2 separate regions of the Homo sapiens genome follow, and region 2 is linked to region 1. The links are contacts of gene promoters, found by promoter capture Hi-C in human tissues and cell types (Jung and others, 2019). All regions are on one chromosome and are shown on one strand. Each heading gives the region's core, a stretch centred on a gene start or on the middle of the fragment in contact. The rest is flanking DNA. Distances are from core to core; before and after follow the strand shown. Region 1 holds the start of PGBD5 (piggyBac transposable element derived 5). Region 2 overlaps PGBD5 (piggyBac transposable element derived 5).

Region 1 (4,311 bases), core at 93-2,592:
CAGCCAATCCACATAGCAAGGAAAGTTCCATGAATCTTTTCCTTTTTATATATTGTCTGTTAGTGATGATCATGAACCTATGCCTGTGCAGAGCCCCTGATGTGGAAGGAGGAACCACAGGGGCTGGGGAGGGGAGGGCATGAGTGAAGGTTCCTGCTCGACACTAGAAGTGACCCCACTTGGCGGCAAAATGGTCCTTCATCCTTTATGCATTCGTAGAAATCGCAACATGCCTTTCTGTTTCATGTAACTACAATTTAGTTAATGCTCAGTAGGATTTGTAAGCCCTTCACATCTCTGAGGATTTATTTTATTTCAGAGTGAAAGTGACTTTATGGCCCATTTACCATTAGTGTGACTTATTGCATTATTCGAAGGAGGAGGAGGGGAGCAAGAAGACAAGGCAGTCTCCGTTACGCGTATCGCCATCAACAGGATGACCACCACACATTCCTGCCCAAGGAAGAGGGGCGGATGCAACCTTTCTGTGCTATTGTTTATGAGAGCACTGAAGCCTGGGTGATCATGCAATATTTCAGTACATGAGTGTTTCAAGTGTGTGTGTGAAGGAGATATTAAAATAGAGGTGTGAGAGTAATTAGTATTTGGAAGTAATGGATATTTTGAGTTCAAAAGATGCCACACGTCAACGATGATGAGGAATGACTAGCTACTTAACTCCAGTGCTGGCACCCTTAAATTACAGGGATACTGAAGCGAGACGGAGTTAGCATCTGACCAGCGACCAACAGTGGACCGGCGAGGCGGGCTCCTAATTAGAGCGAGATTCCCAGAAGCTGGACAGCCCCTGTATTTATGGGAGCATGCGGCGCAGCTGGCAGTGACCCCCAGGAAACCTCGGCAGCAGCCGCCGCCGCGGGTGTGGTGACCTCGGGCCCGCCGCCTACCTGGAGCGTTTCGGCGGCGCCTGGTTCAGAACCACCGGGGCGGACAGCTCCCTGGAGCTGCACGCGGACTGCGGAAGGGGACAGTGAGCGGGATCGGCCCGCACTCCGTCCGCGGGCCCGGACCGCTGGAAGCACCCGGGTCCCCCTCCCCTCCTGTTCCCCGGTCCCGCCCTCCCCCTCCCGCGCTGCGCGTGGCGGTCCCGGGCTGCGCGTCCCTGTAGGAGGAGACCGGCACTGCCGCCGGCGGCCCTCCCCCTAACCGCCAGCCCCGGCCGCGCGCCCCGCCCCGCCCCGCGGAGGAGGGTGGGGGCGTTCCCCGCGCCGGGCCCGCCCAGCTCCCCCGCGGCTGTCCGGGCCGGGCTCCCCATTGGCCGGCGGGCGGGAGGTGAGGGGCGGCAGGGCCCGCCTCTGGCGGCTCGCGCCCGGGAAGGTCGGCAGCCGAGCGCCGGAGGCCGTGGAGAGGGCGGGCAGGGAGGCGGCGGGCGCCGAGGAGACGCAGCGGCGGCGGTGGTGGCGGTGGTGGCGGCGGTGGCGGCGGCGGCGCCTGGTCTCGGCCGCAGCCTCTGCGTCCCGCCCGCTCTGGGTCGCCCCTGCCAGCCCCGCGCGCGGCTCGCCTCCCGCCGCGGCCCGCAGCCTGCGGCGCCCGAGCTCCGAGGGCGCTTCCCCGGGCGCTGGGCCCGAGGCGGCCAAGACGGCGGGCCGGCCGGGCACGGGGCGGCGGGCGCTGTGCTGCGGGCTGCGCTGGTGGGGGGCGGCGGGCCGCGGCGCGGGCCCAGGGCCCGGCGTGTGCGGCTGGGAGGCACTGTGGGGGCGGGCGCGCGGGCGGCGGCCGGGGCCATGGCCGAGGGCGGCGGGGGCGCGCGGAGGAGGGCGCCGGCGCTGCTCGAGGCTGCCCGCGCGCGCTACGAGAGCCTGCACATCTCGGACGACGTGTTCGGCGAGTCCGGCCCGGACAGCGGCGGGAACCCCTTCTACAGCACCTCGGCCGCCTCGCGCTCCTCCTCGGCCGCCTCCTCGGACGACGAGCGCGAGCCCCCGGGACCCCCAGGGGCCGCCCCGCCACCGCCCCGCGCCCCGGACGCACAGGAGCCGGAGGAGGACGAGGCCGGCGCGGGCTGGAGCGCAGCGCTGCGGGACCGCCCGCCCCCGCGCTTCGAGGATACCGGCGGTAAGGGGCTGCCCGCGGGTGGATGTCGGGGGCGGCGCTGGAACCGGGCGCGGGGGAGGCGTGGGTGCTGGGGCGGGCGAGTCCAGACTCTCCGTGGGCTGGCTTGTGGGTGTCTCTCCGGAAACAAATGAGGCTGCAGGAGCGGTGATCGGTCTGACTGCTCCTGGGGGCTCCGAACCCGTGGGTGGAGAGGGTAAGGCGGAGGCCGTGGCCAGCACTTTTCCAGTGACAATGTCGTCGGGGACCTTTTCCTTCACTTCCTGGGAGCACCCCAGCCCCTGCATGGGAAGTCTGTCACACCTGTGGGTCGGACTTTTAGGGGTGGATTGAAGTTAGGCTTTCCTAGTTGAGGGGGCTTTTCTGAAAGCCCGGCGTGGCTGGTGGAGGCAGGGGGAGTCGTTTTTTCACTGACAGCCCAAGAGCAAGCCTTACAGCAGGTGACGCGGGCGAGGCAGGTAGGAGTTGGCCCAGTGAGAGTTGAGAGAGAGGCCACCCGCGGCGTCTTGACTTGGCTTAGTTTTCTCCTTAATCTGAGAAACTTTCCCTGTCCGCGCCATTCCAGATCTCTTGTTAAGAATGGGGAGGAGTGAAGGAAGGGACCGATTGGGCAGCGTTAAGGTGCTTGCTTTTCCGCCAGAAGGTACTTTCAGGTGTGTCCTGCTTACCACTGTGGCCACAGACAAGCCCCGAATACCTGGAGAAGGTGGCTAGGGTGCTGGCAGCTGCGGCTGCCCCACTCCTCTTCACTGTCTGTTTTTGTGGGAGTTGGCTGTTGAAATATCACCACTTCCTCTGCAGAAGCTCCGCAGCCTCTGCCTTCTTTGAAAGCTGCAGACCAGCCGCCCTCTCATGCTGGTATTTCTTGTTCCACGGCCTTCTGTAGCAGGCCCGTGCTCCTGCATGCTGTGTTCTTCCGTAGAAGTGCGCGCAACCGGTGTTGATGAGGGCCAGGGAGTGGCCGCGGTGGGCATGATGCGGCTTTTCCTGTGGCCTTCTCTGATTATTGTTCAACCGGTCAGGAACACGGCACATGGGAAGGCAGGCCCAAGGGACCTCCAGCTGGTGCCTGGACTTGGATCTGGGCATCATGCTGCAGCCTGCTGGGAGGCCGGTAGGGTTAGCTGGACTCTGAGTAGGGAGTGGTCTGCAGACCTCTGGCAGGCTGCGGTGTGGATGCGCGGAGCTAAAGCTGGGCTTGCAAAGTCACAGTTAGCTGTGCACTGCTTTGGGGGTGGGTACATTTTAAAGCATGTGCATTTGGGCTGTAGTTAAGAGCTTGGGAATTTTCAAAATCATTGACTCTCTATAGTCCTTTTATACTGTCCTATATTTTCCAGGATGTCATTAAGGTCTCCTGGCCCTAGACAGCTGTTTTCCTATTGGCTCTTTAAGAATTGTACCAGTCCACAGACCTGGTTTGGCAGACTTTATGCCGTGAGCATCTGTGATGTAATTTCGATCCTGGAACATTTGAGATCCAGGTCCACCTGGGACTGCACAGCAAGTCTCTGCGTGTCTCAGGGCGAAATAGAGAACTTGTGCTAGGTCAAGCCTAGTTATGAAAAAGAATCCTGAATGTGCTGATGTGAGAAGGGTGAGCACACAAATAAATTTTAAATCCATCTTATATTTCTTAGTAACCTTGAAATGGGAGAAATTCTGCAGCAGAGCCATTTAATCCAGCCACCGCAGCACTTACGGTCATGAAGAGCAGGATCGTGTGTCATTTAGCGTTAGGTTCAAATTCTGCTTCCTGCAGATGCCCACTGAGTTCACACCTGGACCGAAGAATCAGGTCCTTTAACCAAAGACATTAGTGGTTATTGCCGGTATTTTTACCCAGTTTTGTTTTCCTGCCCTGTGTGGGAGCTTGCCTTTTAACTCCACATCTGATTTAGAATTTCCTCTTTGCAAATTTCTCCCTGAGGGAAATTTGGAGTGGTGGAGAATGGAGGGATGAGGTTGATGGCTTGTTAAACTTGAATTCAGTTTCTCCAAAACAATGGAATATGATTTATGGGGGCTGAAAATAGATGCAGAAGTGTGGGTTTGGTCAGAGAAAATCCTTGCGCCTACCAGTGTGGAGGGAGATGGATGTGTTTATTAAGAGGCTGAGAGCTGCATCCTGGCCACTTGGGGAGCAAAGAGGATCAGCCTGCTAGGGTTTACCAGAGCACAGTATCTAAAACGCTACGACAAGCGTGCGCTCCCCACTTGCAAAGAATGCAGCCTGGA
Region 2 (4,448 bases), core at 748-3,247, 34 kb after region 1:
CTCCCTGGCCCTGTGGGATGATCCCCATCCAGGAGTGGCTGATCTCCAGGGAGATAAAATAGGCATGGTTTGTTGAATATGAGTATAGGATATGGGGTGGCGTTCTCTGAGGAGCCATAGGTAGAATTTGGATAAAAGAAGTCCATGTTTCTGTAAGATTTGTAGCCCAGTCAGGGGCGGAATGAGCCAGAAGAGTGGGAGAGCTGGAAGCCTGCAGAGGATGCCAGGCCGGGGCAGGTGTGGCGGACTCTAGGGCGGGGAGCCAGTGAGGGAGAGCCTTGCGAAGCCACATGTTTCTAATCAGGCTGTGGACTGGCGGGCCCCGGGCCTATTATTTTTTTTTTTTTTTTTTTTGAGACGGAGTCTCGTTCTGTCGCCCAGGCGGGAGTGCTGTGGCGCGATCTCCGCTCACTGCAAGCTCCGCTTCCCGGGTTCACGCCATTCTCCTGCCTCAGCCTCCCGAGTAGCTGGGACTACAGGCGCCCGCCACTGCGCCCGGCTAATTTTTTGTATTTTTAGTAGAGACGGGGTTTCACCGTGGTCTCGATCTCCTGACCTCATAATCCGCCTGCCTCTGCCTCCCAAAGTGCTGGGATTACAGGCGTGAGCCACCGCGCCCGGCCTATTATTTTCTTTTCTGAGCTCCTTCTGAGGCTCTTAAAGCAGGCGCTAAGATTGGGTGGAAGCCTCTGGCAGCAGAGACCCTCCCGTGTCCTGTGAGAATCTGTGAGTCACCTCCTTAAAGGTGGGATGGTGAAGTGTCCTAGGGTGAGCCTCCTAGAGTCCGCCTGCTCTCCTCCTCCTCGCATCCCCGCCAGTGGTCTCCTGTGTTCAGTGGCTGCACTGGCCCTGAGCACAGCACGCCCCTCCCCCTCCCCTTTCTCTTCTCTTCGCTTTTTCCTCCCTCCTCCTCCCCCTTTTCCCTGCTCTTCTCCCTTCCTTCCTCCTCCTCTCCTCCTTTCCCTTGGCTTCCCTGCCTCCTCCCTCCTCCCCCCCTCCCTTCCCCTTCTCTTCCCTTTTTCCTTCCTCCTCTTCTTCCTCCCCTACCCTTCTTTTTTCCCCTTCCCCTTCTTTTTCCCCTTTCCTCCTTCCTCTTCCTCCTCCGCCTTCCCCTTCCTATCCCTCTCCTCTTTTCCTTCCTTTCTCCCTCTCCCCCTTTCCTTTTCCCTGATTTGCTCCCCCGCCCACCACTGCTCTCCCTTTTCCTCCTCCTCCCCTTCCTGTGCCTCTCCCTCCAGTTCCTCTTCTCTTGCAGCTGGGGTTGGAGAGCTGTCTGCTCCTGCTGCTCCAGGCTCTGGGGCTGAACCCCACGGGGTCTAGTGTGCTGTCAGCCAGGCCTGCCTTCATGCTGCTGGGCTGAACTTTTCTAGCTCAGCCCCTCCAGCTTCCCAGGCCGGAGAGCCAAGCACTGTGGGGCTTGTATCTCCATTGTGAGGTGGACCTCAGGGCCGCACGGGGGATTTCCTTGGGTGAGAGCAGGCCGCTGCTGAGGAGCGGGTGTGGAGCACAGGTTTTGGTGGTGGGAAGTCCTGACAGTCCTCTGGTGAAGGACACGCTTGCAAGGAGCCCCGGAAGGAGGAGAGTCCGGAGGAGGCAGGGGCTGAGCAGCCTCAAAGTTCCAAAGCAGCTGCCCTCCCAGGGCTCCTGCGAGCCGGAGATAAAATAACAAAGCTCGGGTGCTTTATAACTCAGCTTTGGAGGGGGAGAAGATCTGCCTGGAATGAACTGACATCTGAAGGCTTCCTGTCAAGCAGGCCTGTCATCAAAGCCTGGGGCTCATCAGCCGGGCCTCGGGCTCTGGCCTTCCCCAGCTTGATTCTCACCCAATGGGATAGAAGGAGGGGAGACGCAGGGGTACGTGGGGCACAGGCATCCTCTTATCCTGGAGGGATGCCCCTCCAGGGCCGTGGGTCAGTGCTTATCCCCAAAGGACCCGTGACTTTCCCCATGCCTCTCAGGGCAGCCCCGGTGTGGGGGGATGTGGCCAGGAAGCACTGAGGTTATCTGAAGCTGGTGGCAGCTGGGGATCAGCCCCATGACACATGACCAAGGCACTCTTAAGAGAAAAAAATCAAAGCAAGTAGGATTTTCGTTTGGAGATCTGGTAGTGAAGCTTCACAGTCCTAGTAAGCCTCGGTCCAGCCTTTTCCTATGAAAAGTTCATTTCATCTTCTGTTCCTTTCTAACCGCATCATTAAAATGAGCAAACGCCCAGCAGGACTCCTGTGTCGGGCTCCCTTTGGGGGAGAAGGGCAGCTTGGCCCCGTTCTCTGGCGTAGGCTCGGGCCACTGCTGAGCATGGAAGAAAGAAATGCAGCATGGGGCTCGTTTTTTATTGAATTTAACGAAGATCAGTGCCAGGTGTTTGGGGCTGCTTAATAATTATAAAGTCTCTGCTATTTATTGGCTACTAGAAATGGTGAGGAAGAGGTTTATTTTTCTGGAAATAGCATATCCTCCTAAGTGCACCAAAATACAGTAGGAGCTGTGTTTTATGGATGGCCAAATACAGGTCTCTCTCTCCTTGGTACCTCACAGTTTGGTCTTGGAAATTGTTTTACTGCAGGAGGCAAAAGCTTGTCACTGAGGTCTTAAGGTGTGAGGAGGAGGGAGAGGGGTGAGGAGAAAGGGTCTGATTTGACGTTTGCTTTGTGTGTTATACTTTTCCCTGATTCCGGGAAATTTCACACATAAGGTACACCTTAGCATATACCATTTTGTAATGATGCAATTTGAGAAATTCTCTATCCGTAAAACCTCTATTACATCCCTGCAGGGAAGGAGACAGCAAACTCATATTTTTTCCTAGGGGAGAAAATGAGGGGGCAAAATCGGAAAATTGCTAAACTGTAATCCCATGCGCAATTTCTGAATCTTTCCTAAATGTTTTGATGACTAAAAGGAGGGTGAGTTGGGACTATGTCTCAGGCCCTCGGAGATGTTACCATGAAGTCCCCATCTGCTTTGTTCCAGATGTCAGCCACAGCGACAGGCTGGTAGCAGCTCCCTCCCGCCCCACCCCCCACACTCAGGCAAACTGTCCTGCCTCGGTGACATGCCCTGGTGCTTTCCTGATGGACTGAGCTCAGTCGCTATGACTAGTCACTATGAAATGGAGGTGGATAAAAACTGGCAATGAGGCTGGGCGTGGTAGCTCATGACTGTAATCCCAGTACTTTGGGAGGCCAAGGCAGGCAGATCACTTGAGCTCAGGAGTTTGAGACCAGCCTGACCAACATGATGAAACCCTGTCTCTACTAAAAATACAAAAATTAGCTGGCTGTGGTGGTGCGTTCCTGTAATCCTAGCTATTCGGGAGGCTGAGACATGAGAATCGCTTGAACCCAGGAGACAGAGGTTGCAGTGAGCCAAGATCACACTACTGCACTCCAGCCTTTTTTTGAGACTCCATCTCAAAAACAAACAAACAAAAAAAACTGGCAATGAGCCTCTGCTAAAACACACACCCAACAAGTGGGCTTCTTGAGATGTCCCAGGAAGCCTTCCCTGGCCCCATGATTCTGAGCTGCAGGAGCAACCCAGGCTCCCTGGAGTGGGCAGGTAGGGATGGGCGGCAGGGCTTGGAGATGCTACATGTGATTCTGATACCACCTCCACCCTCTGGGTGAGATGCCCGACCTTAGACTTGAGTTTGCCCTCACCCTTTGAAAGCCCACCAGTAACACAACTATTGTCAAACAAATGTAGGCTGATTTGGTTTGCTGCAGCCAGAGAGGATGCACCCCAGAAGAGGGGTGAGATGTTCAGGTGAGGTGAGAGGGGTTGGGAGGAGCCAAGAATGGGGTTTGGGCTTCTGCTGGTGATTCTAAGGAGGGTGTGAGGAAGCTGAAACCAGCTCTGATGGAAGGCTGTGTAGACCCAAAGGCATGGGTGGGTGAGAGAGCATCTGGGTCCCTTTCACCTGGAAGATAGAGGCTCACCATGGAACTGGATTGGCAGCAGTAAAGAAGCAGTGGTCACCCACTTATGGTGGGCAGAGCGAGGGGTATTGAGTTCTTCTGGTTGCAGGGTTCCCCACTCTCTGCTGTGTCCCGCCATGTCACAAAGCAGCCTCGCCTGATGATTGGTACATTTTGGGTCCTATCCCAATCTGACTGGCAGCCTCTAACTCCAGAGCTGTGTTCTCTTTTCTCACCCTCCCACCTTCTGGCTGTGTGATTCAGGCAAGTCACTTATCTTCTTGGCCTCCGTTTCCTCCTTTATAAAAGGGAGGGGAGTGAGGATGATACCTTTTCTGCCCTAGGCAGTGTCACTTTGGGACAGGGTGATGTCCTCAGGTCCCATCCCAAATCATTGCAAACATTCCATTCTTCCACATCCTACACCACCTATACATTCTAAATAGTGTATGAGTTGAGTTGCTGTTGACCAGTTGGCATAAGGCTAAACTTTCTCTATTTTAATGAAACATTTACTAATTGGATTTT

Evidence for each region. Contacts are between HindIII fragments. The study calls those that stand out against the background at their distance.
Region 2: a fragment that was not itself captured here is called in contact with the fragment with the promoter of PGBD5 in region 1 in 1 of the 25 tissues and cell types used here (hippocampus).

Annotation. Positions count from the first base shown.
Region 1 is chr1:230,423,363-230,427,673 of GRCh38, reverse strand. PGBD5 (piggyBac transposable element derived 5) reads left to right here and starts at 1,342. Exons shown (of 7, transcript NM_001258311.2): 1 at 1,342-2,076. The coding sequence starts at 1,746. RefSeq lists enhancers at 173-719, 720-1,267 and a silencer at 1,076-1,395. The HindIII fragment of the contact is 8,713 bases long and covers 1-4,311 here.
Region 2 is chr1:230,389,731-230,394,178 of GRCh38, reverse strand. The region is part of intron 1 of PGBD5 (piggyBac transposable element derived 5); the gene reads left to right. Among named protein-coding and RNA genes, the nearest start is that of PGBD5, 34 kb to the left of the region's middle. The HindIII fragment of the contact is 5,528 bases long and covers 1-4,448 here.